Regions from separate parts of the Homo sapiens genome. Here region 2 is linked to region 1. Evidence: promoter capture Hi-C in 16 types of primary human blood cells and fetal thymus (Javierre and others, 2016). All regions are on one chromosome and are shown on one strand. The core of a region is centred on a gene start or on the middle of the fragment in contact, and the rest is flanking DNA. Distances in the headings are between cores, read along the strand shown.

The links. Contacts are between HindIII fragments. The CHiCAGO score rates a contact against its expected background, and 5 or more counts as called.
Region 2: a contact is called between a fragment that was not itself captured here and the fragment with the promoter of NR2C1 in region 1, in 1 of 17 cell types (endothelial precursors). The highest score is 5.1, in endothelial precursors.

The regions. Positions count from the first base shown.
Region 1 is chr12:95,071,359-95,075,644 of GRCh38, reverse strand. NR2C1 (nuclear receptor subfamily 2 group C member 1) reads left to right here and starts at 2,027. Exons shown (of 14, transcript NM_003297.4): 1 at 2,027-2,265. RefSeq lists enhancers at 1,930-2,249, 1,940-2,440 and a silencer at 2,330-2,609. The HindIII fragment of the contact is 1,017 bases long and covers 1,584-2,600 here.
Region 2 is chr12:94,542,119-94,546,448 of GRCh38, reverse strand. No RefSeq gene overlaps it. Among named protein-coding and RNA genes, the nearest start is that of MIR5700, 18 kb to the left of the region's middle. The HindIII fragment of the contact is 5,199 bases long and covers 1-4,330 here.

The DNA of each region.
Region 1 (4,286 bases), core at 778-3,277:
TGTCCTAGGTTTGTGACTTAAGAGCAACAGACTACAACATACAGCCTAGGTGTGTCTAGGCTAGACCATCTAGGTTTGTATAAGTACGCTCTATGATGAGAGTAAAATGAAATTGCCTAAGGACTCATTTCTCAGAACATATCCCTGACGTGACTATACTTTCATAATTTTCACCTTTGGGACCAGCTTATGGTATTGGCAGGGGTCTCCCTTAAAACCAAACCAAATACACAACAAATAATGCTAAAAGGTAGAGGTTGGAAAAAAAAAAAAGTTTCACTCTCGCCCAGGCTGGAATGCAATGGTGCCAACACTGGACCAGACTCCTGGGCTTAAGCAATCCTCCCACCTCAGCCTCCTCAGTAACTAGGAATACAGGCCTGCACCACCATGCCTTTTTTTTTTCTTTTTTTTTTAAGAGATGGAGTCTCACTATGTTGCCCAGGCTGGTCTCAAACTCCTGGCATCAAGCAAGCCTCCTACCTCAGCCTCCCAAGGCTCTGGGGGCAGAAGCCACTGTGCTCAGCAGAGGTGGATTTTTAATGAGGGATAAAGCATATTTTTACTTGTTAGGGATTGTTTCATGCCTTGATCTCTGTCCGTCTGCCTAGTTCCAGAGAGAAATAACAGAGATGTTCTCATTCCCAGCAAACGTTTGTTTTTCCTTCCTTGGATTTCTGCCCTGAGTTTGTGGCTGCTTTCCTACAGTGCCGACCTAAGCTAGATAAAATAGAAATTTCATGACAAAACAAAGGAGATTTAAAAAAAAACTAGAAATTTCAAGAATGCTTCAAAATCTAAAGCGCAGAGTACTTTGCACACAGGGCAGTTATTCCTGCCACACCTTGCCACTACAGGTGGCCACTGTCAGAATGCGATGTTCCACCAATGTCTCTTCATTTCACAATTTGAAAAATTTTTTTTGTGGAGGCAGGGTTTTGTTATCTTGCCCAAGCCGGTCTCCAACTGCTGGCCCCAAGTGATCTTTCCTTGGCCTCCCAGCAGCCACTTGCCTGGCTTTCATTTCATACATCATTATTGAATAGCAGGCATTGTCCTATGTGCTTGGTAATACATCACTGAGCAAAACAGACAAAAAACGGCCATTGAGGATAATCCTCAATATATAATAATATATATATTATAGAGAGGATGTGGAATATACATATATATGTGTGTGTGTATATATAGAGAGAGAGAGAAAGACTCATTGTGTCACCCAGGCTGGAGTGCGGTGGTGTGATCTTGGCTCACTGCCGTCTTGACTCAGGTGATCCTCCCACCTCAGCCTCCAAGTAATTGGGACGACAGGCACGCGCCACCAGGACTGGCTAATTTTTTTGTAGAGACGGGTTTTCGCCATGTTGGCCAGGCTGGCCTCAAACAACCGGGCTCAAGTGATCCGTCCGCCTCGGCCTCCCAACTTGCTGGGATTACAGGCGTGAGCTACCGTGCCCAGTCTCTAGTGATTATATTCTTGCCCTGTTTAGCCATTATGTCTCTTTACTCACAACAGTTTATAAGTGAAACTTTGCCTTACCATTTGCATGAGTCGGCCTCAGCTTGTCATTATATATAAAGCTTACTAATGTAAATGACGAGTTAATGGGTGCAGCACACCAACATGGCACATGTATACATATGTAACGAACCTGCACGTTGTGTACATGTACTCTAGAACTTAAAGTGTAATACAAAAAAAAAAAAGTTTAAATATGATTGGACTCTACCCCAGAGCCCAGTTTTCCAGAAATTAGAAACAGATATGCCTAAGACCCAGAGGGTTATTTATTACTCAAATCTAAAACGTTGACTCAAAACCTCCCCTAATGCCCACCTTTGGCAAACGATGCTTAAACCTTTGCACGTGGCTTCAAAAATTACCTGGCTGGGAACGCGTAGCTCTGGCGGGGCACTCTGCCTCCAAGCCAAAAGGGGGCAGTGGACTCACAGAGCCGCTGCTCGGCCCTCCGATCCCTCCACCCCACCCTGGGAACGTCACGACCTCCTCTCGCCGCTTCTCCCCGTTGCTAATGCGCAGGCGCTGGCGGGATAGCGCGCCGCCGAGCCGAGAAAGAGGTCACGAACTCTGACCCCCCAGAAATACCCAAACACAGAAAGCTCTCTCCGCCGTGAATCTCGATCCCACATCCCGTCGGCTTTCTTCAACCTCTCTTCCCGGAGCGCCCCCCAATCCACGAGTGGCAGCCGCGGGACTGTCGCGTCGGCGCCCGACGCCGGAGTCAGCAGGGCGCAAAAGCGCCGGTAAGAAACGCTGGGTGGGGACACCAGCGACCGCGTCGGGGGCGGGGGCCAGGGGGTGCCCTTCACCCCAACCGCCAACGGACGCGGTCCCAGCGCATCCCCCGGCCGGCGTCCTGCGGCCAGCGGAGCCGTTCAGTTTGGGAGCGCCGCTTGGGGCTGCTCGACTTCGGCTGGGAGCGCGGAGCTGCGGCGCCAAATGCGCGGGGCCCCGGGAGAGGCGGGGGCGACAGGGGCGGCGGGACGCGGGGCCGGACGGCGAGCGGCTTGGAGCACACAACCCCCTTTCCAGCTGCGCTTACCGCAGCGCCTCTGACCTTTAACCTGCAGGGAAAGCTTCCGCGGCGCTGCAGCTTTCCCCGCCCGGGAGAGCCGCGCGCAGCGCCGGGGCTTCCAGGGCGCACGGCTAACGCCGGCACGAGTGAGACGTGGGAGAGGCCGACCCTCGGCTAGTGGCCGCAAGTCCCGGCCTGCATCCCGTCACTAACTCCCGTGCTTTCACGGGACGGACAGAATGACTCCCCCCACTTTCACTTTTCTCTCACGGCAAATCTGGCCAGGGTCGTCGCTGCCTGTGGGCCTGGATCTTTTCAGAAGAAATGGAACGGCCCCAGGGTTCTCACTGCAGGGGGCATGTCCAAGCTTCCGATAGATAGCTCTTTTGTTAAGAAATAATTCTTCCAACTCGGGCAGATACCATTTTTGTGCAGTACGAATGTTGCCAGGTTGTCCCATAATCTTCAGTAAGTAGGTCAGCCTTTAAAAAAGTAACCGGAAAGCAAAAGCAGAAAGACCTAAAATTACGGCCTTTAGGGTTTAGTACCGCTAGAATTTGTAAATGGACCTTCGATTTTGAGCTTTTTTGAACCATTTCTGCTGTGTGGTTGGTGATACTCGATTTTTTTTTCTTTTTTTTTTTTTTTTTTTGAGAGGGAGAGGGAGTCTCACTGTCGCCAAGCTGGAGTGCGGTGGCGCGATCTCGGCTCACTGCAACCTCCGCCTCCAGGTTCAAGCGATTCTCCTGTCTCAGCCTCCCGAGTAGCTGGGATTACAGACACGAGCCACCACACCCAGCTAGTTTTTTTGTTTTTGTTTTTGTTTTTGTTTTTTGTATTTTTAGTAGAGGTGGGGTTTCACTATGTTGGCCAGGATGGTCTTGATACTCTGACCTCGTGATGTACCCGCCTCTGATCCACCCGCCTCGGCCTCCCAAAGTACTGGGATTACAGGCGTGAGCCACCGCGCCCGGCCGATGATTGTTTTTAAACTTTGCTTTAAGTCCAGTTAGTATATCTGAAAAAGCGATGTGTATTTCTATCATTAAAAGTGGGTCGCGGCTGGGCGCGGTGGCTCACACCTGTAATCCCAGCACTTTGGGAGGCTGAGGTGGGCGGATCATCTGAAGTCGGGAGTTCGAGACCAGCCTGACCAACATGGAGAAACCCCGTTTCTACTAAAAATACAAAATTAGTCGGGCGTGGTGGCGCACACCTGTAATCCCAGCAACTCCGGAGGCCGAGGCAGGAGAATTGCTTGAACCCGGGAGGCGGAGGTTGCAGTGAGCTGAGATCGCGCCATTGCACTCCAGCCTGGGCAAGAAGAGCGAAACTCCGTCTCAAAAAAAAAAAAAAAAGTGGGTTTTATGAAATGTTGCTAATCTTAGTTTTTCAAGGGGCATGTTAGTTTCTTCTAGGAAAGGTTTTTTTGTTTTGTTTTATAGAAATGGTGGGGGGCCTCATTTTGTTATCCAGACAGATCTCTGGCCTCAAGCTATCCTCCTGCCTCAGCCTGTTGAGTAGCTGGAATTACAGGCACCGCATCTTAAGGAAGGATTTTGAGGGAGCAAACATCCCCAAACACACACCGTCTGTGTGTCTGCCACACAATGTATAATCCCTACTCTTGGGGAATAAAAACAAAACAGCATACAATAAATAATAGTATAAATATAATTCGTTGCCGTTTTTCAGTGACAAGACCATCTACAGCCTCTTGAAGTCTTTTATGAACTTGTCTAGAAAAAT
Region 2 (4,330 bases), core at 1,203-3,702, 530 kb after region 1:
AAGGTTCAGCCATTTTTGTGTCTGGGGAACCGGCAGGTTCCTTCGGTATAACGCTCCCCATTGCTGAGGTTATAGCAACCTCTAGGGGTTGCCACGGGTTACTGTGCTGGCTACAGTGTCTTGGATCCCTTTAAAGTTGGAGTTCTCAGGGTTTCCTACAGGTGTTCCAGGGGAGCACGGAGGGTCTGATGGCTGGACTTTAGCGTCGCCTCCATCTGCTGCCCATGGTCTGCAACTTAGGGTGTCAGCTTGCCTAGACCCACCTAAGAATCACCCCCACTCTAACTGCACACACGCAACATACACACGTGCGCACACAGCCCCTGCTCTGAAGGGGGTGTGCATTTGCCTCACTCCTCTTGTTGAAGCCCCCCGAGTTCCCCTAGTTCTTCCCTATGTCCCCAACCTCCTCATTCGCTGAACACAAACAAGTGTGTTTGTGTTCACATGTGGCCCTGGAGAGCTGTTGCCAAGCGGCATTTACCATTTTCCTGAATCTCTTAGCAGGGGCGTTCCAGGCTCTAGTTTTTATGATTTATCTCAAAATCCAATCCAATCTCGTCACCCTCTGCTTACAGCCTGTGGCAATTTCCCATTTCCCCTTCTTGTGGCCTATAAGGCCCCTTTCCCGTCTCCCTGCCCTCTTCACCCTCGTCTCTCCTGACACACCATCCCCACCTGCTAGTCAGAATGAATTTCTTTTTGTACTTCAAAAGCTCTCTTCTTATTCTTGAAATGTTACAATTAATCCCATGTGGCCACAGCTCTGTGTACAGCATGGCAGTGTCTAATAATTAGTTATGAGTGTGTGGGTATCATCCAGTATTCAGCAGGGCAACTGTGATTTGCCCACTGCAAAGCTCCAAGTACCCACTTTGAAAGATACCAAAGAAGGTTAAGACACAGTTCCTACTTCCAGGGAATTTTACCTTCTAGTTGGGTAAGACATGAACACATGAAATGACTAGAAAACAAGGAAGTGTTAAAACAGAGGTTGCAAACTGGTGGACTATGAGCTGAAGCTAGGCCTTAAAAAATGTGTCTTGTTTCAAAATAACAATCTTAGCCAGCTCAGTTGTCATTTTCCAATTTTTAAAATTCTGGTAAAATACATATAACATTAAATTTACTATTTCAACCATTTTTAAGTGTGAAATTCAGTGGCACTAAGTACATTCATATTGGTGTGCAGCCATCCCCACCGTCTACCTCCAGAACTTTTTTCATAATTTTTTTTTTTTTTTAAGATGGAGTCTCACTCTGTCACCCAGGCTGGAGTGCAGTGGCGCGATCTCGGCTCACTGCAACCTCCGCCTCCCAGGTTCAAGCGATTCTCCTGTCTCAGCCTCCCAAGTAGCTGGGACTACAGGCACCTGCCACTGTGCCCAGATAATTTTTTGTATTTTTAGTGGACATGAGGTTTCACCATGTTGGCCAGGCTGGTCTCAAACTCCTGACCTCAGGTGATCTACCCACCTCGGCCTCCCAAAGTGCTGGGATTACAGGCGTGAGCCACTGCACCCAGCCTAGAACTTTTTTCATCTTGCGAATCTGAAACTTTGTACCCATTAATCACTAATTCCCCATTCTTGCCCCCCACCCACTTCCTGGCAACCACCATTTCACTGTCTCTGTGGTTTTGACTAAGTATTGCAGCTCATACGAATGGAATCGAACAGTAATTTATCCTTCTATTACTGACTTATTTCATTTAGCAGAATGTCCTGAGGATTCATCTGTGTTGCATATATCAGCATTTCCCTCCTCGTAAGGCTAAATAATATTCCATCATGTGATATATATATATGTGTGTCACATTTTGCTTATCTATTCATTTGTCAATGGACACTTGGGTTGCATCCGCATTTTAGCTCTCATGAATAATGCTGCTATGAATATGGGTGTACAAATATATCTTCAAGACTCTGCTTTCAGTTCTTTTGAGTATATACCCAGAAGTGGAATTGCTGGATCATATGCTAATTCTATTTTTAAATGTTTGAGGAACTGCCATACTGTTTTCTACAGCAGCTGCACCGTTTTCCATTCCCACCAACAGCGCTCCAATTTCTCTACATCCTCACCAACACTTATTTTCTATTTTGTTTTTGTTTGGTTTTGTTTTTTACTAGTAGCCGTTGTAATGGATGTGAGGTGGCCAACACAGTTAATTTTTAAAAAATTAGTTATCAATGTCTTAAAATCAAATTTCACTTTAAAAATGTATATTTTCAGTTTTTTTGAAAAATTGGAAAACTCTGGCTGGTCTGGCCTGTCCTTGTCCCTGGTAACAGTTGGCTAGAGCTAAGTAGCAACTGCCCCTTGGCACAGGGCAGGGCCTGCAATTTCCAGCTCAGCTCGCACCTCTCCTGTAGGTTCCTTAACACAAAAAATAAAAGCAGGTGCCTCTCACCCCAGCACTGCCACTTTTCCCCACTGAACGGTCAGGAAGAGAGGATTTTCCTTGTATTCATCCTTGATAAAATGTGGCAAAACTAAAAGCAGACAGGGAGATAGGGAGTGAATGTCATTTTTGTGATAGTGTATACTGATTATGTTTAATTGGTAGATTAGTCCATTCTCACACTGCTGTAAAGAAATACCTGAGACTGGGTAATTTATTTTTATTTTAAAAAGAGGTTTAACTGGATCATGGTTCTGCAGGCTGTACAGGAAGCATGACGGCATCAGCTCCTGGGAGGCCTCAGGGAACTTACAATCATGGCAGAAGATGAAGGGGGCGGAGTGAGGCATCTCATGGTGGGAGAAGGAGCAAGAGAGAGAGGTGGGTAAGTGCTAGCCAGTTCTCATGTAACTGGTTACACAACCAGTAAATAACCTGTTGAGAATAACCAATTCTCATGAGAACTCTATCACGAGAACAGCACCCAAGGGTTGGTACTAAACCCTTCGTGAAGGATCCACCCCTATAATCCAATCACCTCCCACCAGGCCCCACCTCCAACTCTGGGGATTACAATTGAACATGAGGTTTGGGTAGGGACACGGATCCAAACCATATCAATTGGCAAATACAGTTTCTTATAGTCAAGCACTTCACTCATGTTAGTTCTTCCTGGCCCCTATAGGCATTTGAGTTTGTGATCCTTGGGTTAAACTCTTGGCCACTAGGTATTCTGAGACAATGGCTGCTCTGGGAGCAGGCTGATCAAAGGCAGTTTGAGAAAGGAGGCAGATTTTCACCTCTGCCTTGAAGGATCATGTATTAGTTTGCTAGGGTTGCCATAAGGAACACCACAGACTAGCTGGCTTAAACAACAGAAATTGATTTTCTCACAATTCTGCAGGTTAGAAGTTTGAGATCAGTGTCGGCAGGTTGATTTCTTTGGAGGGCTCTCTCCTTGGCTTGTTGGGGGCCACCTTCTTGCTGTGGCCTCACATGGTCTTCGCCTGTACCTGTCTGCATCCTAATCTCCTGTTCTTACAAGGATACCAGTCATATTGAATTAGGGCTCACCTCTATGACCTCATTTTACCTTAATCACCTCTTTAAAGACTCTATCTCCAAACAGTATCATATTCCCAAGTACTGGAGGTTAGGACTTCAACATGTGAATTTTGGAAGGACACAATTCAGCCCATAACAGATAGATAGGACCAGGAAGGAGGAGAGAGAAGGTACAGTGGGCATGCATTTTGCTATCTTCTTAGCACCTGTATCCATTTCTTGTTGCTATTATAACAAATTGCCACAAATGTATTGGTTTTAACAACACAAATTCATTTTTTTCCAGTTCTGGAAGTTCTAAAATGAAGCACTGGCAGAGCTACAATCCTTCTGGAGGCTGCAGGAGGGATCTAGCGCTTTGCCTTTTCCAGTTTATAGAGGCTGCCCATGTTCCTTGGCTCATGGCCCCACATGATCTGACCTTCACATTCATCTTTATGTCTCCTCTGTCTCTGACTTTCTTCTGTCTTTTTGTTTTTTGAACAGAGACAGGGTCTCACCCTGTCATCCAGGCTGGAGTACAGTGGTGTGATTATAACCTACTGCAGCCTGGAACTGCTGGGCTCCAGCGATCCTCTTGCCTTGGCCTCCCAAAGCTCTGGGACTATAGGTGCACATCACCACGCCTGGCCTCCTGCCTCTTTTTTGTCAGGATCCTTGTGATTATATTAAGCCCACCCAGATAATCCAGGATCATCTGCCCATTTCAAGATTTTTTTTTTTTTTTTGAGACGGAGTTTCCCTCTTGTTACCCAGGCTGGAGTACAATGGCGTGATTTTGGCTCACTGTAACCTCCACTTCCTGGGTTCAAGTGATTCTCCTGCCTCAGCTTTCTGAGTAGCTGGGATTACAGGTGTGTA